3 separate regions of the Homo sapiens genome follow, and all the other regions are linked to region 1. Evidence: promoter capture Hi-C in human tissues and cell types (Jung and others, 2019). All regions are on one chromosome and are shown on one strand. Each heading gives the region's core, a stretch centred on a gene start or on the middle of the fragment in contact. The rest is flanking DNA. Distances are from core to core; before and after follow the strand shown. Region 1 holds the start of VMO1 (vitelline membrane outer layer 1 homolog). Region 2 overlaps KIF1C (kinesin family member 1C). Region 3 holds the start of ALOX15 (arachidonate 15-lipoxygenase).

The links. Contacts are between HindIII fragments. The study calls those that stand out against the background at their distance.
Region 2: a contact is called between a fragment that was not itself captured here and the fragment with the promoter of VMO1 in region 1, in 1 of the 25 tissues and cell types used here (stomach).
Region 3: the fragment with the promoter of ALOX15 here is called in contact with the fragment with the promoter of VMO1 in region 1 in 1 of the 25 tissues and cell types used here (adrenal gland).

The regions. Positions count from the first base shown.
Region 1 is chr17:4,784,229-4,788,881 of GRCh38, reverse strand. It overlaps VMO1 (vitelline membrane outer layer 1 homolog), which reads left to right and starts at 2,518. Exons shown (of 3, transcript NM_182566.3): 1 at 2,518-2,724; 2 at 2,830-2,945; 3 at 3,223-3,597. The coding sequence starts at 2,530. The coding sequence ends at 3,520. The HindIII fragment of the contact is 14,296 bases long and covers 1-4,653 here.
Region 2 is chr17:5,007,874-5,012,526 of GRCh38, reverse strand. The region is part of intron 16 of KIF1C (kinesin family member 1C); the gene reads right to left. Among named protein-coding and RNA genes, the nearest start is that of KIF1C-AS1, 9.9 kb to the left of the region's middle. RefSeq lists a silencer at 231-290. The HindIII fragment of the contact is 9,299 bases long and covers 1-4,653 here.
Region 3 is chr17:4,639,238-4,643,890 of GRCh38, reverse strand. ALOX15 (arachidonate 15-lipoxygenase) reads left to right here and starts at 2,213. Exons shown (of 14, transcript NM_001140.5): 1 at 2,213-2,374; 2 at 4,260-4,461. The coding sequence starts at 2,240. The HindIII fragment of the contact is 22,491 bases long and covers 1-4,653 here.

The sequences.
Region 1 (4,653 bases), core at 1,269-3,768:
CCCCTGTGCCCTTCGCCCCAAAGGGCAGCTACCCTGGGTGCGAGGAACTGGGTGAAGGGAATTTGGGGGATTCGACAGCAGTGACAGATCAGTGCATTTCCCTTCCCTGTAGGGCCAGCTGTAGCAAGAGGCACTCTGAGTATTGGGAAGAGAGGCAGGGCCCAGAACAGCTCCCCTACTGAGCAGTGGTGTGGGCCCTAAATTCACTCTGGGCTTGAGTTCCCTCCACTGTAAATTGAGGATAATAATAGGTACTTTGCAAGCCTCATGTGAGGATTAAATGATAACGTATGTGAAAACACTAAATGGAAAAGCTGACCACAATTGCCCTATAAATCTTATTAAGTTCAAGCATTGTCCGGCTCTGGGATCCAGGGAACACCCACTTCTCTCTCGCTCTCTTTTTTTTTTTGTTTGTTTTTTGTTTTTTTGTTTTTTGAGACAAAGTCTCGCTCTGTCGCCCAGGCTGGAAAGTGCCGGCTAATTTTTACATTTTTAGTAGAGACAGGGTTTCACCATACTGGACAGGCTGGTCTCGAACTCCTGACCTTGTGATCCGCCCAACTTGGCCTCCCAAAGTGCTGGGATTACAGGCGTAAACCACCGCGCCCAGCCGGGAACACCCACTTCTAAATTCTCTATCTTATTCCCAGGGGACTTTGTCTTGACCTGGATACATGACCTCTTGCAATCATATACGTACGTCAGGCTTTATCCTTTTGCATTTTTGTGGTTTAATTTTCAAAACTCCAGATTGGCTCTTCAATCATTCATTGCACCAACTTTTATTAAGTACTTCCGCACGTACTAGGCTTCAAGAATACAAAAGTGCCTTCACAGAGCTCAAGGTCCACTGGGGGAGAATTTATCCTCTGTCTCCCCCACTGGAATGTGACCTCTGATGACAGGGGCCTTGTTATTCTTGCTTACAGCAAGTGGAATATTGCTTAAGCCAAAACATATTATTGCTAAATAGGTATTGAATAAACAAAGGAGTGTGTATGAGGGGCAGGTAAATCTGGGGTTGTGGCCCCTAACAAATTTAGCCAGGCATTTTTAGGCCAGGCACGGTGGCTCACGCCTGTAATCCCAGCACTTTGGGAGGCCGAGGTGGGCGGATCACCTGAGGTCAGCCTGGCTAACATGGCAACACCCCGTCTCTACTAAAAATATACAAATTAGCCGGGCGTGGTGGCGAACGCCTATAATCCCAGCTACTCGGGAGGTTAAGGGAAGAGAATCGCTTGAACCCGGGAGGCAGAGGTTGCAGTGAGCCGAGATGGCGTCACTGCACTCCAACCTGGGCAACAGAGTGAGACTTCGTCTCAAAACAAACAAACAAACAAACAAACAAAAAACATACTTAGCCAGATTTTCTCGCTTTTTGTTTTGCAAATTAGGAGTCCATCTGGTGGTCACAGGGGGAAAGGCATTCCAGGAAAGGATATAAGGATACAGAAAGCAATGGAAGAAACAGCATGATCTTTTCTTAGGGGTTCTTAGTCTCCTGTCCCCAAACTTCTTAGAGTTATTCCTGTTGGACCGGGCGCGGTGGCTCATGCCTGTAATCCCAGCACTTTGGGAGGCCGAGGCAGGCGGATCACAAGGTCAAGAGATAGAGACCATCCTGGCCAACACGGTGAAACCCGGTCTCTACTAAAAATACAAAAATTAGCGGGGCGGCGTCTTGGCGCGCGCCTGTAGTCCCAGCTACTCGGGAGGCTGAGGCAGGAGAATCGCTTGAACCCAGGAGGTGGAGGTAGCAGTGAGCCGAGATCGCGCCACTGCGATGCCGCCACTGGGCGACAGAGTGAGACTTCGACTCAAAAAATAAAAATAAAAAAGAATTATTTCTGTTTGTATATGTCTTCTTCTAAGGTAGGGAGGAGTGTCCCGGATTCTCAAGGTGTTAGGGCCCTGAGCTCTCAGAAGACCTCTCAGAGGAGGAAGAGACTTCTGAGCTGACAGGAGTTTTCTCAGCTTCTCCAGTTCGAGGATTCTTGTCCTATCCTCACTCTGATGTCCCCTCACATCCTGGAGGTCTCTGGGTTGCTCTTGCCCCATCCCGTCACTGGTGGGACTCCCGGGAGGTCACTTCCATCCCTAGCCCTGGTCTCTGCTCTGTCTCCACTCTCACTGCTGGAATGTTTCCCAGCTTGCTTGGCTGTAAACCTAAGGCAAGTTGCTTGCCATTTTTGAGCCAGTTCCCTCATCTACAAAATAGGAAGGATAATTCTCACCCCCCAAAAATTGTTGTGAGGGTTAAACAAAATACTGCAAAGCGCTAACCATAATTCGTAGCCTATAGTAAATATTCAGTAGGTGATGGTTATTTTAATTCGCCCTCTCTCACTGCCCCTCCTACCCTAGCTCTGGGAGCCTCTGCCTCCGGGAGCAGGAAATAGGGTTCCGGGAGTGGATTAGTTTTGGGTTTCACTTAATCTGGGAGGCCCTTCCGCAATCGGAGCCCTCACAGAGGCCAAACTGATATAAATCTGCTTAGGAGGCCTGATTCACAGACGCTACAGGATGGAGCGGGGCGCAGGAGCCAAGCTGCTGCCGCTGCTGCTGCTTCTGCGGGCGACTGGTTTCACATGTGCACAGACAGATGGCCGGAACGGCTACACGGCGGTCATCGAAGTGACCAGCGGGGGTCCCTGGGGCGACTGGGCCTGGCCTGAGATGTGTCCCGATGGATTCTTCGCCAGCGGGTTCTCGCTCAAGGTTGGGGCTCAGGCGTAGGTCCTGGAGAGGGCGGAGATGCGTGGGACCATAGAGCCAAGGATGATAATTCCGTGACTCGCCCTTGCCCCTCTCCTCGATACCCAGGTGGAGCCTCCCCAAGGCATTCCTGGCGACGACACTGCACTGAATGGGATCAGGCTGCACTGCGCGCGCGGGAACGTCCTAGGCAATACGCACGTGGTAGAGTCCCAGTCTGGAAGGTGGGGCGCAGGGGTCGAGGATCCCTTGGGGTGATGGTATGTCCCTTACCCTCTATTACATACTCCGTCGCAACAGGCAGGCTGGCTCCGCCAGAGCTACGGGGCAGTATAGACCGGGGAGGCGAAGGGTGGATGGAAGACCCCTCCTCCGCTCCTCGGCGGAGGTCGGGGAGCACCCAGCCCACCAGGTCATATACACAGCACTTGGCTTGGAAAGTCTCAAGGGCTTGGTGAATGGGGGGCCCGCAGAGGCAACGCATCTCCCTTTGCCTTGCAGCTGGGGCGAATGGAGTGAGCCGCTGTGGTGTCGCGGCGGCGCCTACCTAGTGGCTTTCTCGCTTCGCGTGGAGGCACCCACGACCCTCGGTGACAACACAGCAGCGAACAACGTGCGCTTCCGCTGTTCAGACGGCGAGGAACTGCAGGGGCCTGGGCTGAGCTGGGGAGACTTTGGAGACTGGAGTGACCATTGCCCCAAGGGCGCGTGCGGCCTGCAGACCAAGATCCAGGGACCTAGAGGCCTCGGCGATGACACTGCGCTGAACGACGCGCGCTTATTCTGCTGCCGCAGTTGAACGGCGCCGCCGCCGCCGCTCTCTCCCGGGCCAGGAGGCTAGTCCCACCTCTTGCTATTAAAGCTTCTCTGAGTTGACTTTGGTCTCGCCTGTTTATTTCATTTATTTATTTATTAATTTATTTATTTGAGACGGAGTATCGCTCTGTCCCCCAGGCTGGAGTGCAGTGGCTCACTCGGCTCACTGCAAGCTCTGCCTCCCGGGTTCACGCCGTTCTCCTGCCTCAGCCTCCCGAGTAGCTGGGACTACAGGCGCCCGCCACTACGCCCGGCTAATTTTTTTTTTTTTTTTTTGTATTTTTAGTAGAGACGGGGTTTCACCGTGTTAGCCAGGATGGTCTCGATCTCCTGACCTCATGATCCGCCCACCTTGGCCTCCCAAAGTGCTGGGATTACAGGCGTGAGACACCATGCCCGGCTGGTCTCGCCTGTTTAAGGGATGGGGAACTGAGTCTCCTTTTCCCCTCCTAACTTAGCATTAGGTGAGGCATACATTTGGATTTGGTCTCAGGGGTCTATGGTAGATTGCTGAAAAGTTATGGACTCGAGAAAAACGCACTTAAACAGATAATTTTCAGACAAGTGATGGAAGTCTGGCTTTTTTTTTTTTTTTTTTTTTTGGAGTCTCACTCTGTCACTCAGGCTGGAGTGCAGTGGTATGATCTTGGCTCACTGCAACTTCCACCTCCTGGGTTCAAACGATTCTTCTGCCTCAGCCTCCTGAGTAGTTGGGACTACTGGTACCCACCACCATGCCCAGCTAATTTTTGTATTTTTAGTAGAGATGGAGTTTCCCCATGTTGGCCAAGCTGGTCTCAAACTCCTGACCTCAAGTGATCCACTGGCTTCAGCCTTCCAAAGTTTTGGGATTACCGGCTTGCACCATCGTGCGGGCCCAGGAAGTCTGGCTTTCTGAGAGAGTCTGCAGACACCCTGCCCCCATTAGGTGCCTAGGTTGTCTCCTTTCTGAACCAGTGACCTAAGATTAAGAAAATTCTACCAAATTATGGCCAGATGTGGTGGCTCACAGCTGTAATCTCAGCACTCTGGGAGGCTGAGGTGGGTGGATTGTTTAAGCTCAGCAGTTGGAGACCAGCCTGGGCAACATGGTGAAATCCCCTCTCTACAAAAAGT
Region 2 (4,653 bases), core at 781-3,280, 220 kb before region 1:
TGTCCCGGCTCCAGTCCATCTGTCCAAGCCCCCCTCCCAGGCTCTCTCCCAGACTCTGTACTTCCACTCAGCGGACCCCTGAGCACTCCCTCCAAAGTAGGCCTCCTGCATCCCTGACTGCCAATGTCCCCAACAACAGACCGCCTCCCGCCCCGCCCCCACCTGCCAAAATCATTCACTTCCTTCACGTTCCTCCCAGTCTGTCTGAAATGCAACTTCCTCCGGGAAGTTTTCCTAAGCCTTCCATCAGAACACAAGACCCCTGCCTCTGCTGCAGAAGGACTGACTGTGGCCTTTCTACCTCACCCTGGTGAAGCGCTAGGCGGGGTACAGAGATGAGTCAAGCCCAGGCACTGCTGTCCAGTCAGTCAGGAAATGAGAGTCAGCTAGGGGAGGTGAGGCTTGGCGTGGAAACACCATTACAAGTGGGAAACGGATGCCTCATGGAGGAGTTTCTGATTGTCTCATGCCCTTGTTTAAGTTCGTTTATTCATTCATTTGTTCCCAGGGGGTTGAGTGCCACTGTGTTCTGGGAGGGACTCACATGCAAAGAGGAACAAAGTGAAGAACTATGGGATTTCAAGGGGATCAGGAGGACTTAATGGAAGGGTAACATGGGAGCCAGCCTTTGAGGACAAGGAGGGCGTGGACATGCACAAGAGCGCTCCGGGTGAAAGCAGCCTGGACAGAAGCATGGAGGCAGAAAGCACAGGGTACAGAAGGGAAACAGCACGGAGTCGAACCTCTATTTCTCTGGGAGCCACTTAACACTCAGAGCCCAAAGCTGTGTCCCCCAGAGGTGTCTGTGTATCTTGTGCATCCGCCCTTCACCCAAGTGCTCCAAGGATCACTCCTGCGACACTTCTCCTGAGGGACTCCCATGCCCCTCCCTACACTGCAGTGTCAGGCCTGCTCTGGGACTGGCAAACGCTGATGGGCTCCGGAAGCAGAAAGCAATCTATCCCTGGGGAGAGGGAACACGATTTGAGGCGGTGCTTTTCAACTTTTTCTTCAGCCCTATAACTCTTTGTTCAAAATGAAACCTTCTCTAGAAGCCTAGGACATCAAGCAGATAAGCAAGAAGCTGCTCAGGCCCAGGCTGGGGGTGAGAGCCCCAGGGTCTGGTCCTGTCCCTATCCTCAGCCCCTGAGAAGGCAGCTCAGAACCAGGTTTGAACACCACTGATTTAAGCAATCCTTAGCCCTGGTGGTGGGGGTCTTAGCAAGAGGAGGCTCCCTCCAAGACAAACTGTAGTTTTTTCCTCTAAGACCCAACTATTCCCTGTTGGAGCTACTCACACCAAACCCATTTCCCCATGAGTCTAACAGTTCTCTCTTCTGGCTTTAGACCACATGGCTTTTAAACATGAGAAGAGTTCATCCTCACCACCTTGAGAAAAATGTAAAAGTGAACTACCTTAAGACACCTTCTCACCAATCACACAGGCAAAGAGAAAAGTCTTACTAAGCCAGAATGTGGGAAAGGGCGAGGGGAAATGGGCTCTCTTGTATGTTACCCTTGGGAGTATAAATTGGTATGGTTCAAAAAATTAGCCAGGAGTGGTGGTGGGCGCCTGTAGTCCCAGCTACTTGGGAGGCTGAGGCAGGAGAATGGCGTGAACCCGGGAGGCGGAGCTTGCAGTGGGCCGAGATTGCACCACTGCACTCCAGCCTGGGCAACACAGCAAGACTCCATCTCAAAAAAGTAAAATAAATTGGTATGGTTATAATCTTCAGAGGGCACTTTGGCAATATAGATTAAAAAAAAAATTTTTTTTTTTGAGACGGAGTCTCGCTCTGTCACCTGGGCTGGAGTGCAGTGGCATGATCTCGGCTCACTGCAAGCTCCGCCTCCCGGGTTCACGCCATTCTCCTGCCTCAGCCTCCCAAGTAGCTGGGACTACAGGTGCCCGCCACCACGCCCGGCTAATTTTTTCTATTTTAGTAGAGATGGGGTTTCACCTTGTTAGCCAGGATGGTCTCGATCTCCTGACCTCGTGATCCGCCCGCCTCGGCCTCCCAAAGTGCTGGGATTACAGGCGTGAGCCACCGCACCCGGCCTAGATTAAAATTTTACATGGCTACCATTTGACCCAAAATCTCCATTTCTAGGAATCTGCTCTACAGATAACACCCATTTGTAAGACTATGCATTGTAGCCTTTTTTTGTAGTATCAAGGAATGGGAAACAATCTGAATGTCCATCAGTGGGAAGCTGGTTAAATACATTATCCTACATCTACACAATAGAATACCCTGACACCGTGAAAAAAATAAAGGAAGCTTTAAAATAAGGTATGCAGGCCAAGCACAGTAGCTCACACCTGTAATACCAGCACTTCAGGAGGCCAAGGCCAGTGCATCATTTGAGGCCAGGAGTTTGAGACCAGCCTGGCCAACATGGCGAAACCCTGTCTCTACTAAAATACAAAAATTAGCCCGGCGTGGTGGTGGGTGCCTGTAATCCCAGCTACTTGGGAGGCTGAGGCATGAGAATCACTTGAACCTGGGAGGCAGAGTTTGCACTGAGCTGAGATTGTGCCACTGCACTCCAGCCTGGGCGACAGAGTGTGACTCTTGTCTCAAAATAAATAAATAAAATAGATATGCAACTACAACTATTAGAGAGGCCGTGAATGTGAGTAAATGTGTATAGTTCTATATAACATATGCCTGTACATGTGTTATAACATCTCCTAGACAGCATCTCTAGGAGAACATTTTTTCTTTTTTTTTTTTTTGAGACAGAGTCTTGTCTGTCACCCAGGCTGGAGTGCAGTGGTGCGATCTCAGCTCACTGCAACCTCTGCCTCCCGGGTTCATGTCATTCTACTGCCTCAGCCTCCCTAGTAGCTGGGACTACAGGCGCCCGCCAGCACACGTGGCTAATTTTTTGTATTTGTAGTAGAGACGGGGTTTCACTGTGTTAGCCAGGATGGTCTCAATCTCCTGACCTCGTGATCCACCCGCCTTGGCCTCCCAAAGTGCTAGGATTACAGGTGTGAGCCACCAGGCCCGACCCAAGGAGAATATAGTAAGAACCCATAATGGGCCTGGCACGGTGGCTCACACCTGTAACCCCAGCACTTTGGGACTCCGAAGTGGGTGGATCACGAGGTCAGAAGTTCAAGACCACTCCGGCCAACATAGTGAACCCCATCTCTACTAAAAATACAAAATATTAGCCGGGTGTGATGGTGTGCGCCTGTAATCCCAGCTACTTGGGAGGCTGAGGCAGAAGAATCGTATGAACCCAGGAGGCGGAGGTTGCAGTCAGCCAAGATTGCACCGTTGCACTCCAGCCCGGGTGACAGTACAAGACCCCGTCTCAAAAAAAAAAAGAACTCATAATGAAGGCTGCCTCTGAGGGGAAACTTAAGGGTGGGAAGGATGGAGAGTTACTTTTTTTTTTTTTCTATAACAAAATGCTGTAAATTGGAGACTTTTCACTGTACACACCTTTTAGAACTATTAGAATGTTCTCTCTGGTGTGTATTACCTTTATAAGAACAATTAAAACAAGAACCCCCTCCTTTGGTCCCCAGGCTTTGGCAGGTGGCATCTCTGCAAGCTCTCCAAGGAAGAAACCTCCACCCCACCAGTCTCCCCAGTCCTTTCTGCTTTTCCTCCATCCTTGCAACCGTGGTGGAAGCGGCCCAGCTCCAGGTATACAAAGGTGGCTGGAAGCCATGCTGAGCGCATCCGTAGCCCCTCTTTCCACCTAGGTGTGGCTGGGTCCCAGAAGAGTCTGGATCCCTCAGAAGGACCCCAAAGCCCCAGGGTACCCAGCCCCAGACAAGACCCCAGACACGCAGCCTGGCCTACCGCCCACAGCTCTTTCACTCCCTCAATGTGGCTTGGGCCAGGCAAGGCAAAACCCCTCTCCTCTTTTCAGAACAGGGGTTCAGTGATCCCTGCTTGCTTAGTCCCCCAGATGGACCTGACTTTACAAAACAGAGAGGAGCCTTCTTCTGGTAACCCATCACCTCTTCCAGGCAGCCCCCAGTGACACTGTCTGGCTCAGAGCACAGTGTATCTGACTTAGGGCCTGATCCTCTGCTGCTTCACACCATGGTCCAGACGGGCTGGGCTGGTTCCCTGGTGGAACTGGAAGTTCATGCTCTGCTCAAACTGGCCTCTGCACCATCCCTTCACTGGTATACTGGCCTCTGCACCATCCCTTCACTGGTATGCACCGGTACAGCGGTGCTGGCTGTCTATATCCAGTGTCCTTTCTGACTGGTCAGTCCCTATGCCGGATGGTTATTAATATTTGGAGTATCATTCCTGCCTCCACCTGAGCCTGACCTCTCCCGCCCTGCTCCTTCCTTCCTTTCAGCAAAGATTTATTAGGTACCTAAAACCTGGCGGCAGGCACGTGTCAGGCACTGGCGTGTCCCACTCACCCCAACATGTACCCCAGGCTCTTCAACCTCATGTTGGCCCTACTCCTCCATACTTCCCAAGTCCTGTCCATCTTTCAGGTTCCACTTTCCAAACCACCTTCTCCAGGAAACCAGTTGCAGCATAGCTCCAAGCTACACGGGTGCCTCCATCTATAACCAACCCCTCGCTGCACTGGCAACCACTGTCTTACAATGTAGTGCTCATGCCTCCTCTATTCCCTTTAGTCTTGTCTTCCCAAGTTATCCTT
Region 3 (4,653 bases), core at 964-3,463, 140 kb after region 1:
AAAAGACAAAGATAGGCGTGTATTTGCTCAGTAATATTAGTGCACAGAAGAGACTGGTAACTGTGATTGCTGGGAGTGGAGCAACTGGGTGGCTTGGGGCCAAGAGGAGGGAGAAACTAGTGAATATCACTTTGTACCTTTTGAATTTTGAATCACATGAATGTACTTCCCAGTAAACAATTAAGCAGGGCCGGACATGATGGCTCATGGCTGTAATCCCAGCACTTGGGGAGGCCGAGGCAGGTGGATCACTTGAGGTCAGGAGTTCAAGACCAGCCTGGCCAACATGGTGAAACCCCATCTCGACTGAAAATACAAAAAGTAGCCGGGCATGTTGGTGGGTGCCTGTAATCCCAGCTACTCTGGAGGCTGAGGCAGGAGAATCGCTTGAACCCGGCAGGTGGAGGTTGCAGTGAGCCGAGATCACACCACTGTACTCTAGCCCGGGCAACAGAGCAAGACTCCATCTCATTAAAAAAAAAAACACCAAAAACAAAAAACAAGCAAACCAGAAAATATGCATCACAGACATATTTTCGTGGACTTCATTTGTGTTACCAGGCTGATTGTAATCCATGCCATGAAGTTTATGTTAGTATTCCCCTTTTGTTTACATTGCCTGATAATTTGTTTCCCTTTGTCTCCCCCAAGGGAAGCATTCATTTATAATGAATTTTTCAGCTCAGTGTGTTTCAGCAAACACTTATTGACACCCACAAACCCTGACACTGTGCCGTCTCCAGGGGAAACAAAAGTGAGAGTCCTGCTGGGTGTGTAGTCCCTGCCTAGGACGGGCTCACATTAGTGGGGGATACACACATACAAATGCTCACACTGCAGTATTAACTGTGCAACAGTAGAAGTGTGCGCAAGGAGAAAAGTGTTAGAAAGGAAAGCTGGGCCGGGCGCCGTGGCTCACACCTGTAATTCCAGCACTTTGGGAGACTGAGGTGGGTGGATCACAAGGTCAGGAGTTCAAGACCAGCGTGGCCAACATGGAGAAACCCCGTCTCTACTAAAAATACAAAAATTATCCAGGCATGGTGGCAGGCGCCTGTAATCCCAGCTACTCGGAAGGCTGAGGCAGAGAATTGCTTGAGCCCGGGAGGCAGAGGTTGCCGTGAGCCGAGATCGTGCCATTGCACTCCACCCTGCATTCCAGGGTGACAGAGTGAGACTCTATATCTCAAAAAAAAAAAAAAAAGGAAAGCTAATTCACTCTGGTGGGGTGGTGGGGGGTGAAAGTACCGGGTAAGACTTTCCTGAGAAACCGGAGGTGAACTAGGGTTTAGAAGCATGAATAGATGAATAGACTAATCCAGGAGCAAGTTCTTTTGAGAGAACAGCAGGTGGGGTTCTGGGGAACACATGGCTCCAGCCCAAAAAGAAACTGGAGACGAATTAGGGTTTAGAAGCATGACCAGACTAACCCAGAAGTGAGTTCTTTGAGAGAACAGCAGGGGCGGCGGGGGGAGGGGGGGTTCCGGGGAACACATGGCTCCAGCACAGGAGATGCCAGGGTGCAGTGGGATGAGAGGTGAGGAGAGCAGGTCAGGTTAGCAAGGGCATTGAATGCCAGAAACATTTGGACTTTTATTCTGCAGGCAACAGGGAGGCAGCGGCTTTTATGCTCAAAAGGAATGAGTCCCAGTGGCTGGCACAGAGAAGGCAAGTGTGCAAAGCTGGTCGAATGAATTCCGTGGCCTGAATGTACCTTCCTCAAATGCCACTGCAAACTGGGTCTCCTCGCCCACTTCACCCTCTCCTGCAATCCAACTTGTGAGGCTTGTGTGTGCGCGCGCGTGTCCTTGCGTGTGTGTGTGTGTGCACGCGTGCGTTTAGATGGAGGTTGGCTTCCCAGCCACCCAGGCTTGGCCCAAAGTCCGTGGTACACACGTGCATAACTCCTACCCCCACCTCGCCTGCCTGCTGTACCAGGCGTTGATTCCCTCTTCCTGCGTGTTTTCGGTCCAAATCCTTTTCTTTTTCTCCCTCCCGTCAAGATAGTGGTTTCCACTCCCTGCTCTCGCCAGGACACCGCCTTTTGGACTGGGGCTGAATTCTGCCCCTTGAAGCTCTGCTCCTTGGAGCTGGGGGCCCCAGCGGTAGGCGGAGTTGATTGGAGACCTGCCACCCACATTCCGACCCCAAGCGACCTCCGAGAGGGCGGGGTCTCAGGCTGGGTTATTTAGCTCGTCCACCCTTCTCCACCAGAAGGAGCGAAACATCTTTGAGCAAGATGGGTCTCTACCGCATCCGCGTGTCCACTGGGGCCTCGCTCTATGCCGGTTCCAACAACCAGGTGCAGCTGTGGCTGGTCGGCCAGCACGGGGAGGCGGCGCTCGGGAAGCGACTGTGGCCCGCACGGGGCAAGGTGAGCTCCCCAGAGCCGGGCGGGGTGGGCTGCGCCCCTGGCTCCGAGTCAGTCAAATACCGGGGAGGACATGCGCCCCCGTTGGCCTCTGGCCGATTCTCTTTGCCAAGGGCCCGCGCATTGGGCTCAAAGCGCGCGGAGGCCACGGGGGTGGGGGGCTTTAGGGCAGTCGGTGGCACACAGTAAGCGCTCAATAAATGTTGCCGCTACCCGATCTCCTTGGAATTGAGGGCATGCTCCTGTGCGCCCCTCATTGCACAAAGCTCCCTTGTCTGGAAACTCAGCAGTCACTGGAGCCGCCGTCGGTCCTCTCGCTTTCTCTATTTTAAAAACCGTTTCAACCGCTAGCGCTGTTGGATCTCTACCTTTCAGGCTTTATCACCTGGGGTGGAGTGGGTGGTGAGAGGGAAGGGATGGGGAGTCAAGACAGGAGAACGCTCTCGATTTCCCGACCCACCTCCCGTCATATCTCATGTCACATCTACCGGGTGTTCTACCCGGTCCTGTTAACTTTTTTTCTTCCGCGAAAGCCCAAATTCCCATCACTGCTCTAGCTCTCTCCCAGATCCCCAAATCCGGATGTCTGTCTCAGGGAACGTCAAAGCAACATGCCCGGATGAGGTCCTCCCCTCTCCCCACCTCCCAGCCCTCTCCTCCTGCCTCCCCCGGTGTCACCCGCGCCTCCTTCCTCTCTTCACCTCCCTCTAAACAAGAATCCGGCGCAGTCAGTTCTAGACCCTGAGCATCTCCCGCGTCCCTGCCCAATATCCGTCCCGCCCCCGACCGCCCGCGTCCTCTTGAACCTGCGGAGCCCTGCTCCCCGCACTCCACGCCCTTGCTCCGAGCTTCCGAGAAAGCGGGGCAAAGGGAGCCAGGAAGAGAGAAAATGCGCACGGAGCAGGTGGCCCCGCGACTCCATGGTGAGGGGACGGGGCACGGAAGGTGGAAAGGCGCGCTCCCTCCTCCCTTTTTTCCTCCCTATGGTGGGCAGTTGGTGACACACAGTAAAGGCTCAATAAATGTTCCCGCTACTCGATCTCCTTGGAATTAAGGGGATGCTCCTGAGCGCCCCTCATTCCACACAGCTCTGGTGCCTGGAAACTGCGGTCGCCGGAGCGGTCGTCGGTCCTCCCGGTTTCTCTATTTTAAAAGCCATTTCAAACCTCCAGCGGCCTCGCCACCTCTGCTGCAGACCTTCCAAGCCCTTCTGAAGCCGGAATGATTTCTCCCTAATTCACTCCCCCTGCTTAACACATTCGAACGGCTCCCGCTTGTTCTCGGGACCAAATCCAAAGCCCCTGGCGCCACCTTCGAGAGCCTCCGGACCTGCTGACCCCCCACACCTGGGCTCTGAGCTCCAGCTCCAAGATGCTGCTCGCCCTCCCTTCCCCGCCGCTCTCTTTCTGCGCGCCTTTCCCCTGCCTTCCCTTTCTGTCACTCTCCCTGGCTGAGCCCTCTCCGCCTCCAGGTCTCCGGGAAGGTTGTCCCCAGGCCGGTGGGGCCCCTGCAGGTCCTCAGCCTCGGGCGGGGTGGGGTGGGGGGTCGCACAGCGGGAATTGCCACCAGCGCGTCCGGGCTCCACAGCGCGCTCGTCCAGGGCGCGGCAGCGCTCAGCCCAGCGCTTGGCACAGTCAGTGACCACAGGGAGGAGAAAGTGAAGGCAGGAGCGCACCTTCCCACCTGCCGTCCCCGTCCCCTCAGAACCGAGTCCTGGGGCCACCTGCTCGGCGCGGTCCCTCTCTCTCTGGCTCAGTCCCCGCACCCCGATACGTCTCCTCCTCTCAGAGGCTCCGAGGAAGGGCGTGGGCGCTGGAGGGAGCAGGGCTCAGCCGGGTGCCCCTCCCGCCAGGCCCCACCGGGGCTGAGCCTCTTCTGTCGCCCGCAGGAGACAGAACTCAAGGTGGAAGTACCGGAGTATCTGGGGCCGCTGCTGTTTGTGAAACTGCGCAAACGGCACCTCCTTAAGGACGACGCCTGGTTCTGCAACTGGATCTCTGTGCAGGGCCCCGGAGCCGGGGACGAGGTCAGGTTCCCTTGTTACCGCTGGGTGGAGGGCAACGGCGTCCTGAGCCTGCCTGAAGGCACCGGTAAGCGCGGGGCTGAGGGTGTCAGGAGGCCTCTGGGCTGTGTGAGAAGCTGGGGGGATGCGCGTGTGGAGAAGAGGGCGCAGGATGGGGGTGCTGGAACCTGGAGCGCCGGGGTCTTTGGGGGTGTCGAAGGGGCGGTGGCTGCAGCTGGCACAAAGTGGCTGGAGCCTGGGGGAGGGGCGTGATGCTGAA